Regions from separate parts of the Homo sapiens genome. Here region 1 is linked to region 2. Evidence: promoter capture Hi-C in human tissues and cell types (Jung and others, 2019). All regions are on one chromosome and are shown on one strand. Each heading gives the region's core, a stretch centred on a gene start or on the middle of the fragment in contact. The rest is flanking DNA. Distances are from core to core; before and after follow the strand shown. Region 1 has its middle 9.6 kb from the start of EDA. Region 2 holds the start of OTUD6A (OTU deubiquitinase 6A).

The links. The method cuts DNA at HindIII sites, captures the fragments that hold promoters and counts their contacts. A contact is called where the count stands out against the background at its distance.
Region 1: a fragment that was not itself captured here is called in contact with the fragment with the promoter of OTUD6A in region 2 in 2 of the 25 tissues and cell types used here (mesendoderm cells and thymus).

The regions. Positions count from the first base shown.
Region 1 is chrX:69,605,081-69,607,920 of GRCh38, forward strand. No RefSeq gene overlaps it. Among named protein-coding and RNA genes, the nearest start is that of EDA, 9.6 kb to the right of the region's middle. The HindIII fragment of the contact is 5,616 bases long and covers 1-2,840 here.
Region 2 is chrX:70,061,028-70,063,727 of GRCh38, forward strand. OTUD6A (OTU deubiquitinase 6A) reads left to right here and starts at 1,430. Exons shown (of 1, transcript NM_207320.3): 1 at 1,430-2,700. The coding sequence starts at 1,498. The coding sequence ends at 2,364. The HindIII fragment of the contact is 14,829 bases long and covers 1-2,700 here.

The DNA of each region.
Region 1 (2,840 bases), core at 104-2,603, 460 kb before region 2:
AGGTGAGGATTTGCACTCAGCTGTTGAATACAGGAATGAGGCTGGATAAAATGGAGGAATACCTCAAGGCAAAGTACAAACCAGGAAAATTATTAGAGACTGGTAGGGAATGAGGACTAGGAATCAGAAGCTAAGCCAGTGATTTCTAGTTGATTTCCTGTTTCATGCTTTTAGCTCAGCAGAAGTAAAATGAAAGTAATTCATGTGTTTTGAAAATGCCTTAAGAGTGTCAGGTACAGATATGTAAGGTAGTAGCTTGAGGGTAGAGGGAGGAGCAATTGGTTCTAGTCCAGCTCATTCATTAACTTAATGGGCATGATTCTTGGCCCTTCTAGGCTTCAGTTTCTTCTTTTGAAATAGGTTGGACTGGACTCGGTGGCCTCCTGAGGGTCTTCCAGTTCTGACCTCTTGAGTTATGTATAAAAGCTGAGGGAAAAAAAAGCATGTGAGTTTTGGAACTCTGGGGGTTAAAGTAGAACTCGCTAAACTTGGGTTGTCACACCTAGTACTGCAGACCTAAGGCCTTTGGGCCCAGGAGCCCAAGATCTGGTGGGTAGTAGTGACGCTTAGGTCATATAATTTCTCGGGGCTCCCATCTCCTTCCCTCTCAGCAGGCACTCTCCTTTCTCAAGCAATTTGGCACATTCCTAAGGGCAACTTCCTTCCCGCAGGCATGGGCTTGGTGTCTCAACTCCTGCTTCTGTGGGTCCTGCTTTCTGTTGCTACAGAAAGCTTAGTTTCTAGTCTTTTCACAAAGGAGTCAGTTTGTGGAAGCTTATTCTTCAGTAGCCATTGCTGTAAAGCACATTTCAGTCAAGCAAAGTCTGTATTCCCAGTGTTAATCGAAGATAGGTCACAATAGGAAAACAAAATCCCTAAGCTGACTGAACTGAACTTGTATGATAAAAAGGGTTAAGATAGTGGTCAAGACTGCTGTAGGTCTATGACATGCTGGATTTGGCCTCCTGGGTATTCATTTATTAGTTCACACAGTTCACTGAAGTTCTGTGAGCTGTGAGTGCCTATAGCCAGTGCTCAAAAAACTCTTTGAGAAGTGGATGGATGTATAAATGAAGTAATGAATGGGCAAGTGAAAGAATCAATATAAAACCCTCTGGGAATTTTTTGCTGAAACTGTTATTTTGTAGTAGCACTTTGCAAACCCCCTCTGCTAGCAGGTACCCCACTATTTTCTCCTTGGCTCTACCTCACGTAATTTCTTGGGTCTCCATTTTCTACTGCTGCAATTTTCTGCTTCAGTTTTGTGATTTTTCGAGATCTAATTTGACTTGGCTGCAGTATCATACCTTCCCATTGGACGGTAAGATCATATTGGAATGAGGAAAAGGTACCGCCATCTAGTATCTATTAGATTCTAACTTTAAAATTACAGAAAACTCCTTATTCCTTAGGTTTCTGAGTATGCAAAATAAATTGTTCAGCATGGCATAATGAAAAGAATGTGGGCTTTTCAATCAGGACAGATTTGGATTTGAATCTTAGCACTACATCTACCAGCTGGGGGACATCAGACACAGTACTTCACTTTTCTCTGGGCCTGTCTTTTTTTTTACATGTAGGAAAATGAGCAATTTATCTTGTAAGGTTGTTCCTGAAGATCAAATGAGATAAACATATGTAACTTTGCCAAACATAGTGCCTGGCACATAGTAGGTACTCAATACGAGGTAGCTATTATCTTAATATCTTACATTTGTATAGCATTTTATATTTTACAAATTCTACCATACTTTCTTTTACTCATCCTAATTCTAGCATCATTATTTATTAACAGAATATATATATATTCTATATATATTCTATATATATATATATACACATTGATATCATAAGACTGAAGATCAACTTGGAGCTCATCTTCATACACCAACTGCTCACCTTGGACCTAGGCTTCCATGATTCCCATCCTTCCAGGAGCCAGACTGTTACCCTGTAGCGTCCATTCCTGGATTTTTACTCATCAAGTGTTAAGCAGCTTAGAAGCGTGCTTAAATTCCAATAGGCTATTAATTTAGCATTTCTTAGCCCAGGACTGCTAGTTCTCTGAGTTGTTTAAAGGAAAGCTTTCGAATTGGGGTGATTCACATTTTTTTGTGCAATGTTTGAAGACTCTAAAACTGTTAGGACATGGCATTTCCCAAATTATAAGAGTGTGCCTGTGAATCTGGTCCAGCTCAGAGGTGTAGTGGGAGGAGGGACAAGGCCATTTAAAAGCTTTGCTGCTATACTGAATTTGTGAAATAGAGTCCCTATTTTCCAAATAAAAATGTTCTTATTGTACATTAATTGTATTAATTCTTTGTTTTGTCCACAAATGTATTCCCAGCACTTAGACTGGTGCCCGGCACATAGCAGATACTCTATGAATGCTTACTGAATAAATATGCTATATAAAATATCCAAAGTTAAGTGTATTACCTGAATGTAATCTAGTTGTGGGCAGCTGGAGTCATTTTGGGAAAGTTATTATAACTCTAGATTTTTCCAAGCCCTGTCACAGGTTGCTTATCACAGAACCAAGATTGGATCCTAGAGAGCCTTACTCTCCAGGGCTCAGATCCCTAAGATCTGTTCTCTAATTCTCATGACCAAGAAATGCAGACTGTGGGCACAATAAGCTCTTTGGCCAGATGGAGCAGGCAAATATAAGTGTAATGAGTAAATATGACAGGTTTAGTAAGAAAAAGAACCCTAGGCTGAGTCAGGTACACTGACTGTGTAACCTTGGATAAGTCATTCAAGTAGTCACCTCTCTGAGCTTCAGTTTCCTCCCATTAAATGATGTCAAATGGCCACTCTACCTACCACACATAGTTGTT
Region 2 (2,700 bases), core at 180-2,679:
AGTGCCGCTATCTTGGCTCACTACAACTTCTGCTTCCCAGGCTCAAGCTATCCTCCCACCTCAGCCCCCAGGAGTAGTTGGGACTACAGGCACACACCACCACACCTGGCTAATTTTTGTATTTCTAGTAGAGTTAGGGCTTCACCATGTTGCCCAGGCTGGTCTGGAACTCCTGACCTCAAGACATCCTCCCACCTTGGCCTCCCAAAGTGCTGGGATTACAGGCGTGAGCCACCGCATCTGGCAAAAAAAAAAAAAAAAAAAAAATTCCCCAAAATTAGCCAAGTATGGTGGTGCCTGTAGTCCCAGCTACTCAGGATGTTGAGGCAGGAGGATCACCTGAGCCTGAGCCCAGGAGTTTGAGGCTGCAATGAGCCATGATCACGCCACTGCATTCCACCCTCGGTGACAGAGCTAGACTCCACCCCCCCCAAAAAAAAGAGAGAGAAAATAGGCAAATGACATAAACATTTTACTGAAAAGGATATGGCATAGATGACAAATGAGCACATGAAAAAAGGAACATCATTAGCCATCAGGGAACTTCACACTTATCAAAATGGCTAAAATAAAAACTTGTGACTGGGCACAGTGGCTCATGCCAGCACTTTGGGAGGCCGAGGCGAGTAAATCACCTGAGGTCAGGAGTTCCAAGACCAGCCTGGCCAACACGGCGAAACCTCGTCTCTACTAAAAATACAAAAATTAGCCGGGCGTGGTGGCAGGCGCCTGTAGTCCCGGCTACCCGGGAGGCTGAGGCAGGAGAATCGCTTGGACCTGGGAGGCAGAGGTTGCAGTGAGCTGAGATTGCACCATTGCACTCCAGCCTGGGCGACAGAGCGAGACTCCGTTCCCCGCGCCCCCCCCTCAAAAAAAGAGTAAACTGAAAGGACTGTGTTTGCAGGAATGTAAGGAAATGTCCTTGTTCTGATGCACAAGTTAATGGTTCCCTGGTGAAGGGACCTGAAAGACTGGAGAAAAACGCACTGCTTCCTCAACAGTAGGGGCAATGCCAAGTCCAGGGTTAGAGCACATTCAGCGGTGTAGTATCTGTCATGTGGCTGTCAGGCATGGCTACTGCCTGCATTGTGTGCAGACTTGGAAATGAAGTCGGCTCTCAATCAGCGAAAGACTCTACAGGCCCAACTGCCACACACATTGCAGGAAGGCCATATTTGAATCCCGCCAAAAACCTTTGCTGTGGGGTCCAATGGGCTCATACTTCCGGTCTCCCAACAGCCAATCCTAGCACTGGGCATTTGCGGGTGGCCCAGCAAGTGGCCTAGCACTTGCGGGGGCGTGGCCATGGAGACACAGTGACCAAAGGCAGAGAAGAATGCGAATGGGGGAGGGGAAGCGGAGGCTGAGGTGAGCCTAGAGCGGCGGTTAGAGCCGGTGAGGTGAAAGAGAGCGACCGTTAGGACAGGCTGAGGACTTCTGGTCTGTTCGGTACTTGAACTGCCAGCAAATTTCAACTCCCGCTTGCCATTCAACATCATGGATGATCCGAAGAGTGAACAGCAGCGCATACTGCGCCGCCACCAACGCGAGAGGCAGGAGCTGCAGGCCCAGATCCGGAGCTTAAAAAACTCGGTCCCCAAGACCGACAAGACGAAAAGAAAGCAGTTGCTCCAAGACGTGGCCCGCATGGAGGCCGAGATGGCTCAGAAGCACCGGCAGGAGCTGGAGAAGTTCCAAGACGACAGTAGCATTGAATCTGTCGTCGAAGACCTGGCCAAGATGAATCTGGAAAACCGGCCTCCCCGCTCCTCCAAAGCCCACAGAAAGAGAGAAAGAATGGAGTCCGAGGAGAGGGAGCGCCAGGAGAGCATCTTCCAGGCTGAGATGTCGGAGCACCTGGCCGGCTTCAAGCGCGAGGAGGAGGAGAAGCTCGCCGCCATCCTGGGAGCCAGGGGTCTGGAGATGAAAGCGATCCCGGCCGACGGCCACTGCATGTACCGCGCCATCCAAGACCAGCTGGTGTTCAGCGTGTCTGTGGAGATGCTGCGCTGCCGCACCGCCAGCTACATGAAGAAGCACGTCGACGAGTTCCTGCCCTTCTTCAGCAACCCCGAGACCAGCGACTCCTTCGGCTACGACGACTTCATGATCTACTGCGACAACATCGTGCGCACCACGGCATGGGGAGGCCAGCTGGAGCTGAGGGCCCTGTCGCACGTCCTGAAGACCCCCATCGAGGTGATCCAGGCCGACTCGCCCACCTTGATCATCGGGGAGGAGTACGTCAAGAAGCCGATCATCCTGGTCTACCTGCGCTATGCCTACAGCCTCGGCGAGCACTACAACTCCGTGACACCGCTCGAGGCCGGCGCCGCCGGGGGCGTGCTCCCGCGTCTCCTGTAGGCCCCAAGGCGCTGAGCAGCCCCGGGAAACTGTCGCCGTCGCCGCATCTCCTCAGTAGGCTCAGTTTATTTTCCCCTTTTGCTTTTCTCTGTTTTTCTTTTCCTTCCTTTTAATCAAAACTACCCGCCCCCGCCCCGCCCCCGCTTTCCTAACCTTGCTGCTTTCACAGGGTGGGAAACGAAATTCGAGGGAAATTCCCCGGAAATATGAGGGAAATCTCTGCATTGCACCACCAGAGGGGCATAAATTTGAAAGTTCTAACCTCTTCTTGCCCTTAAGGGTCTTTTACCTCCCTCACCAACTAAGATTTGGTCATGTTGCGTATAACTTCACCAC